4 separate regions of the Homo sapiens genome follow, and regions 2, 3 and 4 are each linked to region 1. Evidence: promoter capture Hi-C in 16 types of primary human blood cells and fetal thymus (Javierre and others, 2016). All regions are on one chromosome and are shown on one strand. Each heading gives the region's core, a stretch centred on a gene start or on the middle of the fragment in contact. The rest is flanking DNA. Distances are from core to core; before and after follow the strand shown.

Region 1 (3,687 bases), core at 1,051-3,550:
AAGAAAACCTAGGCAATATCATCCAGGACATAGGCATGGGCAAAGACTTCATAACTAAAACATGAAAAGCAATGGTAACAAAAGCCAAAATTGACAAATGGGATCTATTTAAACTAAAGAGCTTCTGCATAGCAAAAGAAACTATCATCAGCGTGAACAGGCAACCTACCGAATGGCAGAAATTTTTTCCAATCTATCCATCTGACAAAGGGCTAATATCCAGAATGTATAAGGAATTTAAACAAATTTACAAGAAAAAAACAACAACACTATCAAGAAGTGGGCAAAGGATATGAACAGACACTTAACAGAAGAAGATATTTATGTGGCCAACAAACATGAAAAAATGCTCATCATCACTGGTCATTAGAGAAATGCAACGAGATACCATCTCACGCCAGTTAGAATGGCCATCATTAAAAAGTCAGGAAACAACAGATGCTGGAGAAGATGTGGAGAAATAGGAATGTTTTTACACTGTTGGTTGGAGTGTAAATTAGTTCAACTATTGTCAAAGACAGTGTGGCGACTCCTCAAGGATCAAGAACTAGAAATACCATTTGACCCAGCCATCCCATTACTGGGTATATACCCAAAGGATTACAAATCATTCTACTATAAAGACAAGTGCACCCGTATGTTTATTGCAGCACTATTCACGACAGCAAAGACTTGGAACCAACCCAAATGCCCATCAATAATAGACTGGATAAAGAAAATATGGCACATATACACTATGGAATATTATGCAGCCATAAAAAAGAATGAGTTCATGTTCTTTACAGGGACATGGATGAAGCTGGAAATCATCATTCTCAGCAAACTTACACTGGAACAGAAAACCAAACACCGCCATGTTCTCACTCATAAGTGGCAGCTGAACAATGAGAACATATGGGCACAGGGACGGGAGCATTACACAATGTGGCCTATTGGGGTTGGGGGGCAAGGGAAGGGATAGCATTACGAGAAATACCTAATGTAGATGATGGGTTGATGGGTGCAGCAAACCACCATGACACGTGTATATGTATGTAACAAACCTCCACGTTCTGCACATGTATCCCAGAACTTAAAGTATAATAAAAAATTGAAAAAAGAAATGGAGAAAGACAAGAACGCAGAATTGATCATACCCCATACCTCAGGGAAGCAGAGGAAAGGGAAGATGACTATAGGATCAGCTTATTCTGGAATAGATTCTTGAAGGGCTGGACCTGGGGCTAAGGAACAGGAGAGAAAAGCCTCTTCTATGTACCTTGGTATAATCATAGTGACTCCTAACAATTACCGCTTCCTCAGTAAAATTGTTGAAATTTAGAACAACACTCTTCAAATTAGCCACTAGGGGAAAGGGCAACCAATCTTCTTTTTTTCTAAATCGTTTAACCACATGAATTAATATATAGAAAACTACACTGCAGTGCACACTGTCCCTCAGCAGGCGTGGTGGCATGGAAGGACGCGAACGACCCCGGGAGTGGCGGGTGAGGAGGGAAGGGGAGCGAGCGGGTGCGAGGTGCCCGCGTTTTCCTGGGGCCCGGGAGGGAAAGGGAGAGGGTGTGAGGTGCCTGCCTTCTCGGGGCTTGGGAGGGAAGGTGAGCAGGTTTAAGGCGCCTGCCTTCCTTGGGGCCTGGGAGGGAAGGAGAGAGGGTGCGAGGTGCCCGCCATTCTCAGGGCCTGGGAGGGAAGGGGAGCGGGTGCGAGGTTCCTGCCGTTTTGCGAGGCTGCGGAGCCTGCTGTGTCCCCTTTCCCGCCCACTCTCCGACCTGCAGGCCCACGGCGCTCAAGGTAATAGGGTCCCCAGCCCTGGAATCAACTCCCTGGGTCTCGGAACGCAACCCACACAAACCTGGACCCTGTCTCTCACTGGCGGGGAGTCGCCTTCGCATGCAGACGTGGAGAAGTCGCCTCCACCCGCAGCTCCTCCCGTGGACCCAGGCCGCCTCCCCCACGCCCCTCCCGGAGTCCCCAGACCCTCCGTGGCGCTCCTGGTACCGCCCCCACTGCCCCACTCACAAAGAGCCTCAGCTTCTTCTCGGGGGGCGACTTCCTCAGCCAGCCGCTGTACAGCACGTGGCCACTTCTCGTGCTTCCGCCGGCGGGGCCACTTCCGGGCCACGAAGACAAAGGCGCAAATGCCGGGTCAGGTGGGCACAGCTCCCGGGAGGGTGAGGGGGACGGCAGGGACATGGGGGCTGCAGCTCACAGTGAAGGTGGGGGAGACAGGGCGAGAGGGCGTTGCTGGAGGTGGGGTGTGAGGGACGGCTTGCGATACCCTGGGACTGCGGGGTAGAAAGCGCAGTTCTAGGGGAGGTCGGGGTCAGAGGTGAAGCTCGTGGGGAGGGCGAGACCCGGGCGCAGGTGCTCACAGGCGAGGGCGGGGTTCAGGTTCCAGCTGGGCTTTGAGTTCCGGTTCAGGCTTCCATCTGTGGTTCCGGTTCCAATTTGAGGTGGAGTTTGGGATTAAAGTTTAGACGAGGCCTCTCGTTCAGGGTTTGCGTTGGGGATTGGGGTGGGGATTTGCACCCTGGGTCAGCCTGGGTGCATCTCATCGGGACCACCGGGGCGGGGGACATGGGCCGGGTGGCTCCTTGGGAGAAGAGGGACAGGGAGCGCAGCTGGTGGAGAGGACAAGAACGAGGGGCGCAGCTCATTCAGAGGGCCACAACAGAGTCTCAGGTGCTGAGTCCCATGCGCCAGATGAGGAAAGACAATGGAAGAGTTCAGGTTCCTGCTGGGGTTTGAGTTCCAGTTCGGGATTCGGCCCATGGTTTACCTTCTGACTTGAGTTGGGGTTTGGGGTCAAGGTTCAGGCTAGGACTTGAGTTCCGGGTTGCAGTTTGGGGGTGGGGTTAGGTTTCAGAGTGAGGGTTTGGGCCTGTTTGTGTTGTGTATGTTTGTGAATGTATTGGGATGTCACCGTGTGTACTTATGTCACGTGTGTGCACGCATCAGTGTGTGCATGTGTGAGTGTTCATTGAGTGTGGCACTGACAGCCAACCCCTCTCCTCCCATTTATGCCCCACTGTCTTATCCTGGTTGGGGTGGGCTTTACAAGTTCCTTCCCTGGGCCAGTTGGAGGTTCTCATGTTGCCTGGGGAGAGAAGGGAAGGAGAGAACAGGTCAAAGATGAGGGCAGCTTGGCCTCAACCAGACCCGGTGTCACGGGGACCAAGAAGCCGGAGGTCCTTGTCTCCTGCCTCTGGAGGAGCTTGGTTTGCTTCTTTGTTCACACATTGTGTGAAAGCACAGTTGGGGGCATCTGATATGCACAGGATCTGTTCTTGCCTCTGCAGATGTCTTAGAGAACAGGACAGACAAGGGGCCTCTTCAGTAAGCCATCCCCAATGTGCACTGCATGTCAGCTTACAAGAGGGGCACAGGGGCCCCATCAGGTAGCAGGGAGGATGCAAGGAAGAGTGTGTGGGGATGGGGGTGCTGGGTGGGGCCAGGTGAGTGGGTGCCTGGCTTCTCCTCAGAGCAAAGGAAAGTGCTGAAGAGTGTGAAACTGTGTGACATGTTATGCTTTATGTTTTGAGAATGGATTGCAGGAACAAGCAGACATGGGGGACCTGATGAGGGCCAATGGGATGTCCATAGAGATAAGATTTGGCTTGAGCTGGTGGGAAAAGTGGAGATGGAGCCACATGGAGGAAATTGCAGAGTCTTGAGACTGAGGAGACA
Region 2 (3,895 bases), core at 1,343-3,842, 430 kb after region 1:
TGAATGGGCAAGGAAGGCTGTGTTTCAGTAAAGCTTTATTTATACTAATGGGTGGTAGACCATAGCTTACTAACCTCCTGTTCTAAGGCATAAAAAAACATGGACAAGCAACAGATTTAAGAAAAAAGTATTTGCAAAGCAGATGACAGACGGTTAATATTATAATATACAAACAGCCCAGTGGAACAATGGACAAAGGATATGAGTAGGTTTCAAGTCACAAAAGAATAAATCTTAATGACAAAAAAAAATATCTGAAAAGATCTGACTGGCAAAAATTATTAAGTAATATCTGTATTGGAAAGGAAAAGGAATACTCATACTTTACTAACAAAAAAATTAGACTGATCAGCCTTTTTGAAAAACAATCTGGTAGTACCTATTAAAATTTAAAATACATAAATATATGTACTCTCATTGCTCCAGTAATGCCAGTCCTGGAATTTTAATCAATGGGTACAAAACAACTGCCGTGCAATGGACAAGGAATGTCATTGCAGCGTGGTTCTGTGTGGCCTAAAATGGAGAACAGAGTGAAAGCCCGTCATTAGCGGGGTGGCTGAATAGGATGTTACCTGCGTACCGTGGAGTATTAGCCCACCTTTTAATAGAATGAAATGGACCTACACTATACCACTTGACTTGGAGAGATTTGCACAAGATAGAAAATGTGCAGGCAAGCATGGGTAGTATCAGTCTATTAGAAAAGGCCTACGCCCATACATTGATGCATGTGTCTGCATGTATGTATATATGAATATGATTACATTGAAAAAAAAAACAAAAAAAGTATACTTGTTTGTATATGAGGGGAGTTACTGAAGTAGGGAGTAAAAAAAGGAAAGAAAATTGTATACAAACAACCCCCAGAATGAATAGTATGATTGTTTTTTGAATTTATATAAAACTGTGTGTGTGTGTGTTGTGGGGGGTATCTGTATTTATTCACATCATTTTTTAAAAGGAAAAACTAAAATAGTCATTAGTCATTCAGGCTCCATCAGCTTAAAGATTTGTCAGAGGGCTTCCTAGCTCCCACTCGATGTTGTAAAATAGGCTCACCTTTATTACATTCCCAATTACTTGGCCTCTTTTTTGCCTTGTTGATTGAAAAATGGAACTCTTTCTCTGTCTGTTATGGCATAAAAACTTTATGGAAAAGACAAAGTGCCTCAGAGAAATGACTCTCTGTAGGTCTCACTAGTAACTAAGGAACTAAAATTTGAGTGGAATTCAGGTCTGTCCTTACACTTATTATGATATCCCACACTGTCTATTCCCTGTCTCTTGAAGTGAAGCTGGGACTTTTATTGATTTATTGATCTGATATCTGACTTGAAGTAATGAGAGGGAAGGTTGTATAGCATTATATAGCAAAGTGATGTAAGAAAACAAGAAAAACTTGATTTCAAGTCTCCGAACAGATTTATTAGAAACAGAAATTTGACTACCACCCTCTGATCCCTACCCCTCCACTCCTTTCTCAACATGATGATTATACAATCATTACAGACATCCCCTGTGTTTTCTGGGACTTTTTTTTAGTAACCAAATGTTCAAGAAAGTGTAGTGCCTTGTATCTGTTGATGATTATATTTCTAATTTCATGGGTATTCAGCTGACTGTCAGGTCTTATTAACACTGTTTTTGGGGGGGAGGGGCAGGGGGCAGGGGGCGGGATGGAGTCTCACTCTGTCACCCAGACTGGAGTGCAGTGGAGTGATCTCAGCTTACCACAACCCGGGTTCAAGTGATTGTCCTGCCACAGCCTCCAGAGTAGTTGGGATTACAGGTGCATGCCACCACGCCCGGCTAATTTTTATATTTTTAATAGAGATGGGGTTTCACCATGTTGGCCAGGCTGGTCTCGAACTCCTGACCTCAGGTGATCCGCCTGCCTTGGCTTCTCAAAAGTGCTGGGATTACAGGCGTGAGCCACCATGCCTGGCCTATTAACACATTAAAATGATGCGTGTTGAGGGAGCAAGTATACTGGTTGTTGTTGGGAATCTGGGATGGCCCTAGATAGATCTTTCCTGCTGCCAGATATAGGAGGAATATGATGGAACGCACAGCTGTGATACTGTACTAGGCTGATAATCTTAACACAGAGCCCTTCAATTTTATTTTAGTTTAGCAAATAATATTTGTATTGTAGTATGGTAATTTTAAATCACTCACCATGATTTGTATAGAATAGTGCGTCATTTATTCTAACGTGATGAAAGCTTTCTTTTAAAAAGTAGCCGGGGGAGATTGACTAGGGGTTAAATGCTTTCCCTGTGTCTTACTCTGTGGACCCCACCCCCCGTTACTTGAATGAATGAATGAATCCTTCTTTTTTGAGGATATTGCCAGAGGATAATAAGTTATCTAGATGTCTCAGTCCTGGATCTATGAATAGATTGTTTTTCCAGTCTTGATAGATTATTTCTGGTTTGAAGAATTTTACATGGAAACAAGATTAAGAAAGATGATAAATAATTGTTTGGCTAAAGTCCTTTATGAAACAGAATTTACAGAAATGTGATTAAGATGTATAACTCACCTTGTAAGAATTTCATGGAACATGTTGAAGTATAAAATAAAGTTCCATAGGGAGGTGATATCACACACCATACTCTGTCTTACAATTTTTGTCTCTCACAAGGAAAGGATTTGGATGTTCTGAACATATTTCTCTGCAGGAAGCGGGTGGCAGACCTGTTGACTTCATTTTCATTGACCATCTTCTACTAGAATCAAACTCTGGTCTCTTTGAAATTATACAAAGTTGGGAAGCTGTTTACATTATCAACAGCTTTACCTATTTTGAATTCAGAAGAAGATTCAAGGTGGGAAAGACAGAAAAAACCGCAAAACAAGAGCATGTCATACTAGAAGAGTTCCGTGTGAAATTCAGAATTTGGTCCCCTTAACACTATTCACTTTGGAGCTCATGGGAATCCATGGTGAGGGAAGCTTATTAAAAAATGCAGATCAGGCCAGGTGTGGTGGCTCACACCTATAATCCCAGAACTTCAGGAGGCCAAGATGGGAGAGGATAGCTTGAGGCTAGGAGTTCTGGAGCAGCCTGAGCAACATAGCGAGACCCCCATTTCTACAAATACATATATATTTTTAAATTAGTTGGGCGTAGTTGATGCACATCTTGTAGTCCTAGCTACTAGGGAGGCCGAGGCAGGAGGATCACTGGAGCCCAGGAGTTCAAGGCTTGCAGTGAGCTTTGATCACACCACAGGTTTTTTTGTTTGTTTTGTGTTTTTTGAGATGGAATCTCACTCTGTCGCCCAGGCTGGAGTGCAGTGGTGCGGTCTCAGCTCACTGCAGCCTCCACCTCCCGGATTCAAGCAGTTCTCTGCCTCAGCCTCCCGAGTAGCTGGGATTACAGGCGCCCGCCACCACCGCCTGGCTAATTTTTGTATTTTTAGTAGAGACGGGGTTTCACCATCTTGGCCAGGCTGGTCTTGAACTCCTGACCTCATGATCCACCCTCCTCGGCCTCCCAAAGTGCTGGGATTACAGGAGTGAGCCACCGCGCCTGGCCAATCACTAGATGATAGTAGTAATTCACAGGCTTCCCTAGAATCATTCACATTTTTGCTTCATGACTGAATGAGTCATAGGTGTTAATGGCATTTTGCATTTGCAGTTGTTTTATTTTTTAAACTTTATCTTGGAAGAAAACCCTTTCTTCTATTGGAATAGTGGAACCTTTTTCTATTCTTTCATCAGGCTCCATTTACTTGCTGTCCAGTCTGCCAGTGGTATGTCCTGGTGTGTTTCTTTGTACTGTTTGCTTCTGAGCGTCTCTTCCTGCCCTCTAGCTCGTTTTCTTAAAGGACAAACGAAACTTCTCAGCAGCCATTCTACAAATCCTTAAATCCATAATGCC
Region 3 (4,075 bases), core at 1,461-3,960, 490 kb after region 1:
TGCCACAGAGGATCCCATGGGGCAAAGCTTGCCCCGTGCCTGATCCACCCGGTTGTACTTGTCTTTCTTTTCGTGTGTGCTCACATAAAACAACCGCTCCCAGCCAAATCTGTAAACTGTTCATCAGGATTGCTGTTGGATTCTCTCTTTTTTGAAAAGGGAACAATGGTGGGGATAGGGAGCATTGTAATATTTCCATCTCTTGTTCCTCAAAGTAGGTACCACCTTCCCATTATATCCGTGTTTCTTATGCTGATTGAAAATTACATAAGATACTTGGACATTTTTATTTATTTATTTATTTATTTATTGTTTGAGACAGAGTCTCTCTCTGTCGCCCAGGCTGGAGTGCAGTGGCATGATCTTGGCTCACTGCGACCTCCACCTCCCAGGTTCAAGCGATTCTCCTGCCTCAGCCTCCCGAGTAGCTGGGATTACAGGCGCGCGCCACCACGCCCAGCTGATTTTTTGTATTTTTAGTAGAGGTGGGGTTTCACCATGTTGGCCAGGCTGGTCTTGAACTCCTGACCCCATGATTTGCCCGCCTCAGCCTCCCAAAGTGCTGGGATTACAGGCGTGAGCCACCACGCCCAGCGATACTTGGGCATTTTTAGATTTGAGTTATGCTTACGTGTAAATTTGGAATCCTCGTTCTGGTTTTTTCCTGGTGCGTTTTGTTCCCCATTTCCCCAAACCCCTTTTCCGTGCTCTGTGTAGGGCCTGGATGCAGACAGTCTCCGTGTGGAGCCATTGGGTGAAGACAATTCTGGGGCACTATATTGGTATTTCTATGGAACACGAATGTACAAAGAGGACCCGGTGCAAGGAAAATCCAATGGAGAACTCTCTTTGAGCAGGTATGTTCTTCAGTGTTAGGGCATGATAGCTACTGTATTAAAATGTCATTAAGATTAAATGCATCAGAATTCTACAGCACAATTTTTTTTTCCTAATGAAGGAATTCTCTAAGCATGCCTGCAAAGAGATGGTAAGGAGATACTTCATGCAAAAACAAAAAGGAATTAATTCTCTGCTACCAGAGGGGTTAAATATACTTTTTTAATCTGAAGTTCTTGATAGGAGGTTTCTGAGAAATGCCACTCCTCTTGCCACAGGCTATTTTAATATAGCAGGTTTCTTCTCAGCAGCACAATCATTTCACTGCAGTAACAATTTCATCTTGCATCATCAGTCCTTGAGATCTCCTTATTTCGACTAGAATTAATGATGTAGTTTATGCCAGGCGCAGTGGCTCATGCCTGTAATCCCAGCACTCTGGGAGGCCGAGGCGGGCGGATCACGAGGTCAGGAGATCGAGACCATCCTGGCTAATACGGTGAAACCCTGTCTCTACTAAAAATACAAAAAATTAGCCAGGCGTGGTGGCGGGCACCTGTAGTCCCAGCTACTCGGGAGGCTGAGGCAGGAGAATGGTGTGAACCCGGGAGGCTGATCTTGCAGTGAGCCGAGATCGCACCACTGCACTCCAGCCTGGGCGACAGAGCGAGACTCCATCAAAAAAAAAAAAAAAAAAAGAATTTAATGATGTAGTTTATGAACGTTAGTATCCATCAGTTTAAGAACAGAAGGAATTTAAATGATGCCTGAAACATAAGCTTTACTAAGTAAGGAAGAGGCCGCATTTCCATAGCATCCCAAAACAATGCTAACCTCTTATTTAGGCTTTCTTACTGCTAGGAGAATGCTTACTCTTCGGAAGGTGTTAGTTAGATCTTAAGCACATTTTAGTATTGCAAAATGTTAGTTTTCCTCAGATCCACAGTCTAATAATGAAGACTGGAAGTTGCTGTTCCCTTTTCCTTTCACTGCTACATTTAATCCTTTTTGGTAATCTCATGGCCAGAAATACTGTTTTAAAATCATATGTAGCAATGCCAATCCTGTGCCAGAACATTTCTATTTAATATTATTTATTAGGGAAAGTGAAGGACAAAAAAATGTCTCAAGTATTCCTGGAAAAACGGGAAAAAGAAGAGGAAGACCCCCAAAACGGAAGAAACTGCAGGAGGAGATTCTGTTGAGGTAAGAAAATCTTGTTAGTTGTGGTCATAGACCATGGCAGAAGGGACCTTAATTCATTTATTCCTTTTTCTTTATTTTGCCTGTGCCATGGGAAGCACATTATTATAGCAACCTGAAACTGAGTCCTTATGAAATTACCACATGTGCAGTACAGTCAGGAAGCCCTTAGTGTGTGACATCTGGCAAGTCACCTCCCCTCTCTAAGCGAGTCCTCTTACTAGACGATGGATGTGCACTTAATGAGGATTATATTGAACAAGACAGTTTTTTTCATTCTTCAATTTTATATTTAATTTTAGCAAAGAAAGATACTTGGGGGATTTTCTTTTATATGTCATTATCTTCTAGGAAATTTCACCATGTGAATCTTGCTATAGGACTTTTCAAAATCTGACCTATGCTGTGTAAATACACTTTTTACTTAAGGATCAGCTCTATCACTAAGCCTATTGAAGTGAGGCTGTATTCTTAAAAATTCTGATAACTCAGGACAAGTGGCTTCTTCCCTTCCTACTTAATCTAAATGCTTGAGTTAGGCTGAATTTCACCCTGTCACTTTTTAACCACTAAGAAATATTTCTGGGAAATCAGATTAAGAATATAGATCACTCAGGAGATCGAGACCATCCTGGCTAACACGGTGAAACCCCGTCTCTACTAAAAATACAAAAAATTAGCCAGTCGTGGTGGCGGGTGCCTGTAGTCCCAGCTACTCGGGAGGCTGAGGCAGGAGAATGACGTGAACCTGGGAGGCAGAGCTTGCAGTGAGCCGAGATTATGCCACTGCACTCCAGCCTGGGCGACACAGCGATACTCCATCTCAAAAAAAAAAAGAATGTAGATCACTCAGATCCTGATTTTAACTCAATCAGCATCCACTTAACTTTACAGAAGTTCAGCTTCAGATTGCAGCTGCCTATTTCTTGCTTATCCGTTTCTGTGACAAATGTCCTGTAATTACTTAACGTTTTATGTATCAACACCTGTTTCCGGGTTTGTTAGGATTTCACACGTCCTTCGATATTCAGAAAGCTGCATGATACCTGTCTCCGTTTCCCCATAAGTATCAAGAATCACAGTAGCTTAGGGTTGGGACTGTAGAATCATTTTAACAAGCATCCATGGACTTGTGCTACCCTCTACTGGTGACTTTTTTCCTTTAGAGCTGTGTGTGTAAGCCAGTATTTAAATATTTTTTCATTAAATTTAAAATTCAGTTTCTGGTTCACGCTGGCCACGTTTCAGATGCTCAGCAGCCACATGGTTTATTGGATAATGCCAATATAGAACATTTTCATTCTCATAGAAACTTTAATCGAAAACAAGCGAAAAGTCCACAGAGTGTCCTTTCTGTTTCAGGGATACAAGTGAAAATGATACTTCATCCTAATGCGTTATACACTTTGCATTTTGTCATTTAATCTCCAACGTCCCTGTGAGGTAGGCACTATTAATAGCTCCATTTTGGGGGAAAGTTAATTAACTTTCCTGAGGTCACATTGTAAGTGGCACAGCTTGAATAGAGGCATTCCCCCTTCGGAGCCCATGCTCTTAACCCTCTGCCTTAGGTAAGGATCAATTATAATAAATACACCTGTCTTCAGTGCGGCCCTGAATCAGGGAGGAGGACATTGGAATCCCTACAGTTCTTTTTTCTTGGCATTTAATTATTAACAGTTGCATCTCTCTCTTGACTGGAGCAGTGATAAAAAACAAGAACAAACAAACAAAAAAAACAGTGCATCTGTTTGATTTCCAAAAAAAGCTTTAAAAGTTACTGTTTTCTGGCTGGGCACGGTGGCTCACGCCTGTAATCCCAACACTTTGGGAGGCCAAGGCAGGCAGATCATGAGGTCAGGAGTTCAAGACCAGCCTGGCCAACATGGTGAAATCCCGTCTCTACTAAAAAATACAAAAATTAGCTGCACCTGGTGGCGGGTGCCTATAGTCCCAGCTACTCAGGAGGCTGAGGCAGGAGAATCATTTGAACCTGGGAGGCGGAGGTTGCAGTGAGCTGAAATCGCGCCATTGC
Region 4 (3,548 bases), core at 599-3,098, 450 kb after region 1:
TGAATACACATAGCGATTTTATTTGCTGTACCTCTCAAGTTGCAAAAACCCAGATGTCCTTCAGTTGGTGAATGCTTAACAAAAGCATGGTACAGCCATTCCATAGACTACTCCTCAGCAATAAAAAGAGATGAAGTATTGATTCATGCAAAAACTGGGAGACATTTCAAGGAAATTGTGCTGAGTGAAAGAAAGCTAATCTTAAAAGCTTATATATGATATTATTTCATTTACATATAACATCATTGAAATAATAACATTATAGAGACAGAGAACAGATTAGTGGTTGCCAAGGATTAGAGATAAGGTGAGAGGAGAGTGGACATAGCTATAAAGAAGTAACACAAGGGAGCCCTGTGGTGATAGCACTGTTCTTCATCTTAATTGTGGGGGTGGCTGCATGACTCAATACATATGATAAAACTGCGTAGAACTGGCCGGGTGCAGTGGCTTACACCTGTAATCCCAGCACTTGGGGAGGCTGAGGCGGGTGGATCACGAGATCAGGAGTTCCAGACCAGCCTGGCCAAGATGGTGAAACCCCATCTCTACTAAAAATACAAAAATTAGCCAGGTGTGGTGGCGGGCGCCTGTAATCCCACCTGCTTGAGAGGCTAAGGCAGAGAATTGCTTGAACCCAAGAGTTGGAGGTTGCAGTGAGCTGAGATTGCACCAATGCACTACAACCTGGGCGACAGAGCAAGTCTCTGTCTCCAAAAAAAAAAAAAAAGCATAGAACCACATAACACACACATGACTGCATGTAAAACTGGTGCAGTTTTAATACGGTGGGTAAAATGGTGCCATTGTGAGTTTTTTTTTTCTTTTTAATATTATAGTTATGTAAGATGTTACCATTGGGGAAATTCTGATGAAGATCACATGGGATTTCCGTATACAGTGTTTATATAACCTATAATTATTTCCAAGTAAAAAGTGTTATTTTTTAAAACAGAATGAATAGTAAAATCTAACAGAAAACACTTAGGTACATATGGATCATGCAAGGAAGAATTAAAGCTACAGGGTTATTATTACCAAATATTCTTGGAAAGCACTGATTTAAAAACAGAGAGTACTTTGCTGACTTTTTTTGTTATGAAGGAGCAGGTTTCTTGAGTTTACTGTTTGTATTACTCTGTGTGTCTAACCTAAGTCTAGGTACTTAGTTTTAAAATACCTTTAAAAGGAGCAAAAAAATCTCACTTCAGGAGCTTTAAAAATTGTGAAGTTAGCACATTTAAATAATAGTGACCTATAGCTTTGTGAAAATGAGTCATTATGAATTACTGTCTACATCAGTTTGAGAAGAAAGCAACTTATACTTGGAAAAAGTAAAAGCGAATCATCCCTTCTTACCCTAAGCACTTCTCTCCCTTCTGATTATTGAGTTACACAAAAGTATTTCAAGGACAGACCAAGGAAGCCTAGATTCCAAAGGATTGATTTTAGTTGTCCGTTGCATATTCCAGTTACAGTAAGAACCTGCAGGGTGATATACTCAGGGCCTAAGGACCCCCAGGGTCATTCTAGGGCTTATATTTTAGAAAAAAGATCCAGAGCAAAGATGCAGTTTCTTTCTTTCTTCCTCTTTTCCTTTGCCCTGCCCGGCCCTGCATCCCAGCCCTGTGTCCCAGCCTAGAGCATAGTGGCATGACCACAGCTCACTGCCTCTGCAACTTCCCGGGTTCAAGCTATCCTCCCATCTCAGCCACCCGAGTAGCTGGGACTACGGTTGAGCGCCACAACGCCCAGCCAATTTTTTGTGTGTGTTTTTTTTTGTTTTTGGTTTTTGTAAAGACAGAGTTTCACCACATTGCCCAGGCTGGTCTTGAACTCCTGAGTTCAAGGGACTCCCCCGGCGTCGGCCTCACAAAGTGTTGGGATTACAGGTGTGAGCCACAGCACCTGCCCAAAGATGCAATTTCATACTACCAAAAATACAGAGAAATAGAAAAAGAGAACAATGAAAGCCACATGCCAAAATTATTATAGTTGCTTCTTTGTAGCCACTTTGCAAACTCCTGAACTTCTTTGTGATGGAAGTCTGTTGTGCATCCTTCACTCTTTGAAAATCTTCAACACAGGAAACCTGGCTTTTCACATGGGTTTTCCAAATATGCAACCTAAAGCAACTGTCTTGAAACAAATTCTTCAGAAGCCTCTTATCCTTTTAACTCCTTAAGCTGAGCATGTAACTTTGTAAGCTGGGTTTATGAAGGGCCACATGTATTTATACCAGTAGCAGCTTAGTATGTGCTGTGCGGGTGTTTCTCAGGGTATTTATTCTACTCCATTGATCTATTTCTTCTCTTCCTCTTCCTTTCTCCAGCTTTCTGAGTAGTTGGGACTACATATTCGTGTAACCATGCCTGGACTTCTTTATTTTTATAACTTCCTCTTCCAGCCCAGAAGGCAGTTTGGTGTCTTTGATAGCCCCTCACCTATGACACCTCTCTGTATACACTTGCAACTTTGAAGTCTTCTCTGAGGTTTCTTCTTTGGAAAAAATTTAGATTTAATTTTCTGAGACAGAGTTTTGCTCTGTCACCCAGAATGGAGGACAATGGCATGATCTTGGTTCACTACAACCTCTGTCTCCTGGGTTCAAGCAATTCTCCCGCCTCAGCCTCCCGACTAGCTGGGATTACAGGTGCGTGCCACCATGCCCGGCTAAGTTTTCTATTTTCAGTAGAGACAGGATTTCGCCATGTTGGCCAGGCTGGTCACTAACTCCTGACCTCAGGTGATCCGCCCGTCTCGGCCTCCCAAAGTGCAGGGATTGCAGGCGTGAGCCACCGCGCCCAGCCTCGATTTGGATTCTTTAGAGGGATTGAAGGTTATTCACATGTGATTCCTGTACTCCCCAGTGACCCAGGTGTCTTGATTCTGGGGCTTCAGTTTCTTGCCCCATCAGTTTTCTCTTCCCCTCTCATTTTAGTTCAGACCTTCAGGTTGACAAGTCTTAGATTGTATGGAGAGTCTCTGCCTCTAGCCAGTGCCTGTCATCCCCGGTATCCTTATGTCCCAGTCGTTGAATCACATTAATAAACACTATCTACACAGCTGCAGCCTATCTTTTCACATCACAGCTTTCTCTCCCACAAAGTGAAACTTCATTTTTGGGGTGTAGGGGAAGGAAATCTCTTATGTTTATATCAAATCTTTATTTTCTTGCCTAGGACTTCATCCTTTCTAGGTCTCTTCTGGGGTTAGCAGCAGTGTTTCATCCCCACAAAAACTAACCAAGTTTGGCTTAGTCTTAGCTGGCCTTTAGTTCCATCCTGGAGACCTGTTTGGGGGTGCTGTGTGTCTCTTTGTAGACCTGTCAATCCTGTGGTTGCTTCCCTAATTCGCAGCATCAGGGAATCACCCATTACCGCGATGGGTTTCCCCGGTCGTGCTGCTCTGCCAGCAGCTGTAGCAGCTCTTATTTGTAGAAATGGGACGTTCTGTTTATTGTAGGTCCTAGTCAATCTGATATGAGGAAAGCTTCTCTTCTCTTTCTCTGTTGGTTCAGAGTTTATTCTTTTTTATCCAAAGCAACT

The links. The method cuts DNA at HindIII sites, captures the fragments that hold promoters and counts their contacts. A CHiCAGO score of 5 or more calls a contact.
Region 2: a contact is called between a fragment that was not itself captured here and the fragment with the promoter of GAB4 in region 1, in 1 of 17 cell types (M2 macrophages). The highest score is 5.1, in M2 macrophages.
Region 3: a contact is called between a fragment that was not itself captured here and the fragment with the promoter of GAB4 in region 1, in 1 of 17 cell types (total CD4 T cells). The highest score is 5.0, in total CD4 T cells.
Region 4: a fragment that was not itself captured here is called in contact with the fragment with the promoter of GAB4 in region 1 in 1 of 17 cell types (fetal thymus); the score reaches 5.0 in fetal thymus.

Annotation. Positions count from the first base shown.
Region 1 is chr22:17,005,922-17,009,608 of GRCh38, forward strand. GAB4 (GRB2 associated binding protein family member 4) reads right to left here and starts at 2,301. Exons shown (of 10, transcript NM_001037814.1): 1 at 2,020-2,301. The coding sequence starts at 2,193. The HindIII fragment of the contact is 7,120 bases long and covers 1-3,687 here.
Region 2 is chr22:17,439,300-17,443,194 of GRCh38, forward strand. The region is part of intron 1 of CECR2 (CECR2 histone acetyl-lysine reader); the gene reads left to right. Among named protein-coding and RNA genes, the nearest start is that of CECR2, 72 kb to the left of the region's middle. The HindIII fragment of the contact is 733 bases long and covers 2,227-2,959 here.
Region 3 is chr22:17,498,693-17,502,767 of GRCh38, forward strand. CECR2 (CECR2 histone acetyl-lysine reader) reads left to right here. Exons shown (of 19, transcript NM_001290047.2): 4 at 718-857; 5 at 1,939-2,043. Among named protein-coding and RNA genes, the nearest start is that of SLC25A18, 63 kb to the right of the region's middle. The HindIII fragment of the contact is 2,192 bases long and covers 1,615-3,806 here.
Region 4 is chr22:17,457,700-17,461,247 of GRCh38, forward strand. All of the region lies in intron 1 of CECR2 (CECR2 histone acetyl-lysine reader), which reads left to right. Among named protein-coding and RNA genes, the nearest start is that of CECR2, 90 kb to the left of the region's middle. RefSeq lists a silencer at 2,289-2,489. The HindIII fragment of the contact is 3,284 bases long and covers 207-3,490 here.